Linked DNA regions of Homo sapiens: regions 1 and 2 are each linked to region 3. Evidence: promoter capture Hi-C in human tissues and cell types (Jung and others, 2019). All regions are on one chromosome and are shown on one strand. The core of a region is centred on a gene start or on the middle of the fragment in contact, and the rest is flanking DNA. Distances in the headings are between cores, read along the strand shown. Region 1 has its middle 12 kb from the start of CENPA. Region 2 overlaps DPYSL5 (dihydropyrimidinase like 5). Region 3 holds the start of DPYSL5 (dihydropyrimidinase like 5).

Region 1 (3,040 bases), core at 30-2,529, 50 kb after region 3:
AAAATAGAATAAAACTCTAATGCTGCTCAAAGTATATTACTAGGTTGGTGCAAAAGTAATTGCGGTTGTTGCCATTGAAAGTAATGGCAAAAAAAAAAAAAAAAAGTAGGTGCCATCTGGCTTTTAAAAATTTGTAATTGTGACACAGTGCGTCATATGGTATGTAGGGAGAACTCTAACCATGTTTTTCCTCACTCTCACAGCACAACAATCATCCATGCAGAAGATTTCTGTGACCAAACGTTGGAGGTGATTTCCCCATACACCAAGCAGTGGACACCAGCTGGGTGTCCTCTAATTCATTTCTGACACTGTCTACCCAGAGATGGCATCAGATCCCACACGTTGAGGGTTCAGTCCCCAAGACTGCCCACCCACCAAAACCGGTCACAAGTCTGGGCCTCTAGGACTGGCTTCAAGTTGGGGTTCCCATGACCCCCTCTTTGATTAATTTGGTGGAGTGGCTCACAGAGCTCAGGGAAACACATTTACCAGTTTGTTACAAAAAATATTACAAAGGATACAGATGGCTGGGCGCGGTGGCTCACACCTGTAATCCCAGCACTTTGGGAGGCTGAGGCGGATTACCTGAGGTCAGGAGTTCAAGACCAGCCTGGCCAACATGGCGAAACCCCGCCTCTACTAAAAATACAAAAATTAGCCGGGTGTAGTGGCCCACGCCTATAATCCCAGCTACTTGGGAGGCTGAGGCAGGAGAATTGCTTGAACCTGGGAGGCGGAGGTTGCAGTGAGCCAAGATCGCGCCACTGCACTCCAGCCTGGGTGACAGAGTGAGACTCTGTCTAAAAAAAAAAAAAATGAAAAATAAAAAATAAAAAAAATGCATGAAAAACATAAAAAAAGGAAACAGATGAAGAGACACGTGGGGTGAGGTATGGGGAATGCACACAGAGCTTCTAAGCCCTCCGTGGGGGGTGGGGGGTGTGGGGGGCGCCACCCTCCAGGAACCTCCCCGAGTTCAGGTATCGGGAACCTCCCTGAACCGTCCTCAAGGGTTTTTATGGAAGCTTCAGGACCTCCGCATTCTTTCCCCCAGGGTATAGAGGGAACCTCTCTGGGTAGGATCTTAAGACCCACAATCTGAAAGCCTGAGAAAGATTAGAGGCCTGTCTTGGGGCAGGTGAAAGGAGGGCAGGAGAAGGAGAGATTCTGTTTCCTGAGGCCTAACACATACCCAATATTACAACAAAAGAACTAACAACGGCTATAGCAGTTATGAGCCCGGAACTGTGGACGAAAACCAATGTCTATCATAACACCACATGTGGTATAGTAGACATCTGTTATTTTTGTCTGCCCTGTCTACATTCTCTCTTACCTGTTAAGAAGCCTCAAATTTCCTTGGGAAACCACTTGTATTAGTTTCCTATTGCTGCTGTAACAAATTAGCAACAACTCAGTGGCTTAGATAAAACACAAATTTATTCTTACAGTTCTGTAGTTTAGAAGTCTGACACAAGTTTCGCTGGGCTAAAAATCAAGGTATCGGCAGGCCTGTTTTCTTCTCTGGAGTTTCTAAAAGAAAATCCGCTTCCTTGCCTCTTCGCTGCTAGAAGCCACCTAGACTCGTCAGTCTGTGATCTCTCCCTCCATCTTCAATGCCAGCAATGTTGCATCTGCCTGACCATTCTCCTACTCCTATCTCTAACACACTTCTCTCTCACTCTTCCATTTTTAATGGCACTTGTGATTACATTGGGCCCACCCAAAATTCCAAGGTACTCTCCCCATTTTTTGCTTTGTCCTTTTTTTCTTCTAAATCTCCCTATTTTAATGTCAGCTGATTAGCACTCTTAATTCCCCTTTGCCATGTGACATGCCAAATTTACAGGTTCTGAAGGCCTGCCTGAAAGTGACACTAACAGAAGCAGCAAAGGGTGAAGAGAGAGACCAAATCTCATGACTTTGTTACAGCCCTTCGATTTGACTGTAGCGAAACCAGAAATGTCTCTGGGCTTTTCAGTTATATGAACCTTCTCCTCTTAAGTCAGTTTGAGTTGGGGTCCCCAAACTTGCAAATGAGAGTCTTGATTGTTATATATGACAGCATGTGTTATGTTTGATGTTGAATACATTTAAGTTATTTTTGTTTTATTTTAATGGCAATAAGTAATGATGAGTATGGGAATATCAAGAGACACATCAAACTTCAACTTCCAGTAATGGTAGAAAAGGTCATTGGGACCACTCTCCTATCAAAGAAAACTGAAAAAGTTGGAGATCGCACCACTGCACTCCAGCCTCGGTGACAGAGCGAGACTCTGACTCAGAAAAAAAAAAAAAAAAATCCATACTGAAGACACATCAAAATGACATTGCAGAGCCAGCCGGGCATGATACAATGGTCAGAGTTGGGGATCCTGACTTTGCTCAGCGGCAGTGGTACAGTTCAATGCAATGGTGGCAGGGCTATGCTTCCAGCAGAGCAGCAGTGGGGGTGGGCACTGGGAGCTTCCTGATCTTTGGGCAGCATCCTCTTCTCTTTGGCTCAACCAGCCTTCCTGACATTACTATAGTCAACCCCTTCCACCAAATCCCTTTTTGCTTAAAATATCTGGAGTTATTTCTGTTTTTTTTTTTTAAGTGAATGCTGACTGATTGGAATACTATAAAAAAGAAACATTACCAAAATAAGGAGTTAATTGGATATTAAAAACATGAAATCAGAAATAAAAAATTCAATTGAAAGGTTAGAAAAGAATGTTGATGAAATCACCCTGAAAGTAGGGAAAAACAAAATAAAAAAATAAAACAGGGGCGTGGTGGCGAGCATCTATAGTTCAAGATACTTGGGAGGGCGAGGTGGGAGGATTGCTTGAGCCCAGGAGTTTGAGGCTGCAACGAGCTATGATTGCTCCACTGCATTCCAGCCTGGGTGACAGAGCGAGACCCCCCTTTCTCTCAAAAATAAATATGGCCAGGCCTGGTGGCTCACACCTGTAATCCCAGCACTCTGGGAGACTGAGTCAAGCAGATTGCTTGAGTTCAGGAGTTCGAAACCAGCTTAGGCAACACGGCA
Region 2 (3,059 bases), core at 154-2,653, 37 kb before region 3:
GGATTCTCTTTGAGTTGAAACATGCCAAATCAAAGGTTCAACAGAACACAAAAACCAAAGGGGAGTTTGAGATGAGTGGGAAATGCTGAGGGTTTAAGTTAATAAATTTAAGTTTAAAAAACTAAATGGCTAAGTAGTAAACAGTAAAAACTTAACTAATATTAAAGCACAGAATAATTTTATGATTAATTCATAATTGATTTATCAACTATTGAGTAGATTTAAAATAATATTTATTAGTTTGCAAAATTGTATAATTAGTAGTTACTTCAGAGGCGATATTTTGTTCCTTTTCAGGTAAGTAGCTGCAGCTTAATATCATTAAGTGCATTTTTTATAATTTATTTAGACAGAAATAAAATATTTATGACCTACATGTAAGGCAGGTCATAATGACACAGAGACCTGTGAACTCAGCATGTCATTACTGTTTAAGTCTCCACACCTCATTCATCTGACCATGTCCTACTTCTCAAAGGTATCTAGTTTATATGAATTAATGACTAATAGCAATTAGGTGACAAGCAAAAAAGAAAAGGTCACAGCTGTTTCCACTCCGTGACTACTTCTCCCGACATCCAATCAAACTTTACCTGCTCAGTGACTGAGCTTTTCACAACCCCCAGTTCTCTACTTTCTGAAGCAAACAGGAAACTGAAAGTCTAGCTAATGAGGGAGCGGGAGCATTTTAATACCATCCGAATGCCCACTGGACCATTCTACTGGGTTCCACAGGCAGCACACACTCAACCTGTCCAAAACCAACTCCCCTGTCCCCAGTCACCCCATCCAGAAACCTCAGACTCTTCCCAGATTCCTATCCAACCCAGGCCAGGGTCGACATCCAGGAAGACTGCTCTGAGAGGTGGTCCTGATTTGGATTACCTGGGAGTTTTGTGCAAAATGTTTTGAGGGATTCTGGAAGTAGAACCCAACCCTGGGGCAAGGAACTGAGGAGAGCAGAAGGGCAGGTCCCCTTTCTTCCATCTGGGCCTCAGCCATCTCCAAAGGCTAGTGGAGAACCTGAATGGCCTGGGACTGGCACAGGAAGGACTGATCAGGCAGAGCAGTCAGAGGCTAGAGAGAGTCTCTGTCTAATGTTACATCCACCATGAGACACCCTGGGTCCTTGTCCACAGCCACAAACATATTTCCATACCAAATTGGCTAGTGAGGAGGTCTCTGAATGTCCCACCAGGCCCTTTTTCCATTAACCCAGGGGCGGGGCAGGATCAAGCCTATAGATGGCAGGTGCCATTTTGGGGGAGGGCTGGACTGGGGCGTTTGTACCTGGGGACCATCTGCACCAGATCATGAAGCATCCACATCTGGAAAACTGCTACCACCTTTGTCACTGCACTGGAGAGAAGGTAGAATCGGAACAAGTAGGTCAGGGAGTGGGCAAGACTATAGGTAAGAGCCCAGCACCAGAACATCCTCTTCCGAGTGCAGGAGTGGGTACGGGGAGGGAAATACCATCTGCATTGGCCAGCGTCATGGGTGTGAATATGGTTAACAAGGGCTTGCTCCTGAGACAGGTTTTTTTTTATTTTGTTTTGTTTTTTGAGACAGAGTCTTGCTCTGTCACCCAGGCTGGAGTGCAATGGCACGATCCGAGCTCACTGCAACCTCCACCTCCCAGGTTCAAGCAATTCCCCTGCCTCAGCCTCCCGAGTAGCTGGGATTACAGGTACCTGCCACCACGCCCAGCTGATTTTGTATTTTTAATAGAGATGGGGTTTCACCATGTGGGTCAGGCTGGTCTCTTAACTCCTGACTTCAGGTGATCCGCCTGCCTCAGCCTCCCAAAGTGCTGGGATTACAGGCATGAGCCACCATGCCCGGCCTCCTGAGACGGTTTTTAAAAGAAACTGACACAAGTACAGATCAAGCTTGGGCCCCAAGCAAGCAGGAGTTGAATGAAACAAATAGCTTCTGGGAAGGTGTATATAAATCCACAGGGATGATTTCTTAACAGGCTAAGATCAAGTAAGAGGTTTTAATCCCATGAGTTCATCTGAGTTGGCCCGGCCCCACGTGGCTGGACTTAATGAACAAGGACCATCAGTGTGCAGAGGGCAAAAGCTACATTGCAAAGGATTAGCTGTGAGAGGGTGGTAAGAAATGGGAGCTGCTGACCACTTGTTCAGTGAGATTAGTTCAAAGGCACAGAAGAGCTAAGGGGCAGTTGTCAGAAGCCAGAGCTGAGTGTGTGTGTGTGTGTGTGTGTGTGTGTGTGTGTGAGATAGGACAAGCTTAGCTGTGCGTTGATGTGTGTTCACGTGCACCTCCCAGCCCAAGTGTGCACAGCACCAGTCTTGGGCGTTCAAGCTGAAGCCTGGCTCCTTGTAAGTGTTGGCTGACTCCCTGAGGCCAGGAGGCTTCATTACTTGAGGCCTGGGCAGGCTGAGGACCCTCAAAAGTAAGTGTGAGTAAATCCCACTTCCATAAGCCCAGCTCCCGCAGGTCCTGGAAGAAGGACAGACAGGTGTACACATGGGAGACAAGGACTCCTGACTCCCGATTGGGGCTTTAGCTGGGGAAGGACAAGCGTCTGTGACCAGAGGAGGCACCACACCACCACCAGCACCTCGCCCACCCGGCACCGACTCCTGGCAGATAACTCAGCCCTGCTGTGCTTCCCGTGCTCTTGCCAGCTGTCTCCAGGCCCCAGAAATAATTCCATCATCTCCCCTGGAAGGATGGCAGCTGCAGCTCAAGGGTCTCCAGCAGCTCCTGGAGTGGCTGCTTCCTAGAACAAGGGCCAAATGCTGGAAGAGGGCTCACACCCACTGCCAGGAAACGGGGCGGGGGCTCTTCTCAGCTGGAGACCTCAGGTGTGGGCTGGGGAAAACAGGAGGAAAGGATGTATTTTCTTAACCATGAAAGGACCACAAACCCGGGCTACCTGATGAAACCTAGATTCAGGGTAGAAATTGAATGAGAATATAAAACTACTTTCTTCTCTTTTAAGCTGAAAATTAGTATGAACTGACTACAGCCATATACAGCATCTTGCAAACAATAGTTGAGGGGAAGGAGCAGACATAACAGAGTAA
Region 3 (2,700 bases), core at 100-2,599:
CCGGATCTGCCATCCTGGGTCCCTAACCCCGGTCCGAGGGCCACGCCCAGCCGGCCACCTGGGCCGCGGGGCCCCGCGCCTGGAGCTGAGGATCCTCGGGCCCGAGACCGCCTCTCAGCTGCTTGCCCCTCCCTCCTCGGGAGGCTCCCCTTCCCAGGAGGCCCCCCTCCCCCGCACAGCGCGGGTCTTCTCCTCGCTCCCGTCCTCCCTCCTCAAACCCAGGCGGCCTCCACCCGCCTGCATCCCTCCTCCCCTCCCCATTCTTCAGCAGAACCAGCCTCGCCGGGCGCCACCTGCACCGAGCTCCTTCCCTCGTTCTTCGGACCCGCCCCCGCCCCTTCTCTTTCCTCCTCAAACCCTAGTTCCCACTCCCTGCTCCCCGAGACCCACTACCTGTCCTAACCCAGCTCCCCAGCCTTCCCCATCCCCATCTTTTCTCAACCGAGGCCTCCCCTCGCCCTCTCCCGGCTTCTCTCCAGCTCAGACTACAGCCCCGTCCCCAGGCCCGGGGCGTCGACGTCGGTGCCCGCTGAGATCGATGCTGCAAGGCGGGCTCCCGCGCTGGGCTCCAGCCGAGGGACCCGGCTCGGCGCCCGCTCCGGGCTGGGCAGCCGCAGGAGGCCTTTGTGGCTCAGGCGGGAGGCTCGGAGGCGGCGGGCGAGTCCTCTGCAGGCGTCCGCTCCGTTAGCCGGGCGGTGGAACAGACCGCCGGGTCGGGTCCAGGCTGGGCAGATCCCAGCTCGGAGGCGAGAAGGACGGAGGGTGTGTATCTGGGTGGTGTGTGGGACCGGGGACAGCGCAGATCCTGGGACCGGCAGGACTGGCCCCCGGCCAGAGGCGCCCCCGCCCAGCCCTCCAGCGGTCCACTGCACCGCGCCCGGCTAGGAAAGCGGCCCACTGCGTGCTAGGCGCGAAACCCCTCGGCCGAGCCGCCTCCTCACCCCAGGGCTTTGCAACCCCGCGAGCACGCATTAAACGCTTACTATGAGCAAGGCCCGGCACGGCGCTTCGCGGGCGTACAAAGAGGACCCCAAGAGCGCCCCGGCTTAGCCCCGATGGCCACCTCCCAACCCCAAACCACACCTCCCGCCGCGTCCCCTGCGGCCGGGCCCCAGGCTCACCCGGCTCCCCGCCCTTTTGTGCGCCTCACGCAGAAACAGAAGGGGGAGAGGAGGATGTCCTAGCCCGGGAGGGGTAAGCCCACCGACCCCCCTGCCATCACCCACTCCTCCGAGATGCTGCGGCCGCGGGGGCCCGTGGCTCGGTCCGTCTCCGTCTCGCCGCGGCGCCGGAGCTGCGGGTGCTCGGGGCGGCGGCGGCTGCACGCGCGCTCGCTCGGGGGCCGCCTCAGCGCGCCCAGCGCGGGAGTCCAGAGTGGGGAGCGGGGGAGGGGCGCGTGTCGGGGGCTGGGAGCGGCCTCCGCCAATCACCGCGCGGCCGGCTCCTCCCGCCGCTCCCCACCTCAGCTAGCAGGTTAAGGGGAGGCGGGGACAGGCGGCGTCCCGCATCCTTGGCGCCGCGCGCCGCCGCCGCCTGGGGACTACAACTCCCGGCAGGCCCTGCTGCAGGGCCGGGGTCCGAGAGCGGACGGAGGGCGCGGCCGGAGAACTCACCGACCCCCCTAGCACCCGGCTCCGCGTTCCCTCGGGTTTCCATGGCGACTCAGGACACCACAAAGCCTGGACGCGCTGAGGCACGGGTCCCCAGGGAGGGCCGGGGGCGGTTCCGGAGGACACCCCGCCTCCCCTCCCCCAGCTGGATCCCACCCCAGGGGCTGAAACAATGCCGCGGCCGCCTCTCCCGGGCTGCGGCCGCGCTGCCCTCCGCCGCAGGACCCCGCCGAGGCCGCCTGGTTCGCGCCAAGACCCGCTCCGACGCCCGCGGGATTGCGGGATGCAAAGGGCCGGGTGGGCGTTATAGGAAAACTGTTCTCATGAACAAAGTGGACGGCCACTTGGGGCCACCGCAGTTCGCATCTGCACCCGGGGAGGTCTCGAACCCGGAGTGCGTTCTCTCCACTGAGAAGATTTTGCCCAGCGCCACGCGGGTGCTTCCCTGTCCAGAGCGCTCAGGCCCAGTGCCTGTCTTATTTCTGGCTTCTGTCAAGGGACAGCGAAGCCTTTGGAAATTATTTATAACCCAATTTACATTCGCTTCACCTGTTTCTTCATGTTTAAATACATACATAATTTACCAAAATAAACAAATCTAAAAAAGGAGAGGAAGGATCATCCCCGGTTTGTCCCACCTCCCTAGCTAATCCCGGTTCAAGCCTTTGCCATTGATCTGTGTTATTTTCTGCAGTTGTAATAATAGTTTGGATTAGTCATTTGCCTCTTTGCACTTAATGTCACTCCAAAGGCGTTGCGATGCGCGTTAAAATGCAGCATCAAGGACCTCCAAGCTGCAGCTGCAGAATCCCTCCCTCCCCGGGCTCCCCGGCGATCCGGTGGGGAGAGGAGTCCCCTGGCAGCCATGGCCTCGTGAGGTGGTTCTCTTTGCAGGATACTTTCAAACAAAATGGTGTTCACTACTCCGGGGGCGTGGAGGGGGTCCCCTCTCCCCATCTCAGCAAAATCTACCCGGGCGCAGGACCCGCAGAGCCCGCCAAGGCGGGGTTCCCTGCCGTCCTTCCCCAGAGAGCTTAGGGCCTGGACCAGGCCAGGCTGGCCTTTGAGGGATGCATTTCTGGATTACCCC

The links. Contacts are between HindIII fragments. The study calls those that stand out against the background at their distance.
Region 1: a fragment that was not itself captured here is called in contact with the fragment with the promoter of DPYSL5 in region 3 in 2 of the 25 tissues and cell types used here (IMR-90 fibroblasts and hippocampus).
Region 2: a contact is called between a fragment that was not itself captured here and the fragment with the promoter of DPYSL5 in region 3, in 9 of the 25 tissues and cell types used here (H1 embryonic stem cells, bladder, hippocampus and 6 more).

The regions. Positions count from the first base shown.
Region 1 is chr2:26,796,069-26,799,108 of GRCh38, reverse strand. No RefSeq gene overlaps it. Among named protein-coding and RNA genes, the nearest start is that of CENPA, 12 kb to the right of the region's middle. The HindIII fragment of the contact is 9,087 bases long and covers 1-3,040 here.
Region 2 is chr2:26,883,705-26,886,763 of GRCh38, reverse strand. All of the region lies in intron 1 of DPYSL5 (dihydropyrimidinase like 5), which reads right to left. Among named protein-coding and RNA genes, the nearest start is that of DPYSL5, 37 kb to the right of the region's middle. RefSeq lists an enhancer at 664-713. The HindIII fragment of the contact is 5,290 bases long and covers 1-3,059 here.
Region 3 is chr2:26,846,781-26,849,480 of GRCh38, reverse strand. It overlaps DPYSL5 (dihydropyrimidinase like 5), which reads right to left and starts at 1,349. Exons shown (of 13, transcript NM_020134.4): 1 at 1,227-1,349. The HindIII fragment of the contact is 13,507 bases long and covers 1-2,700 here.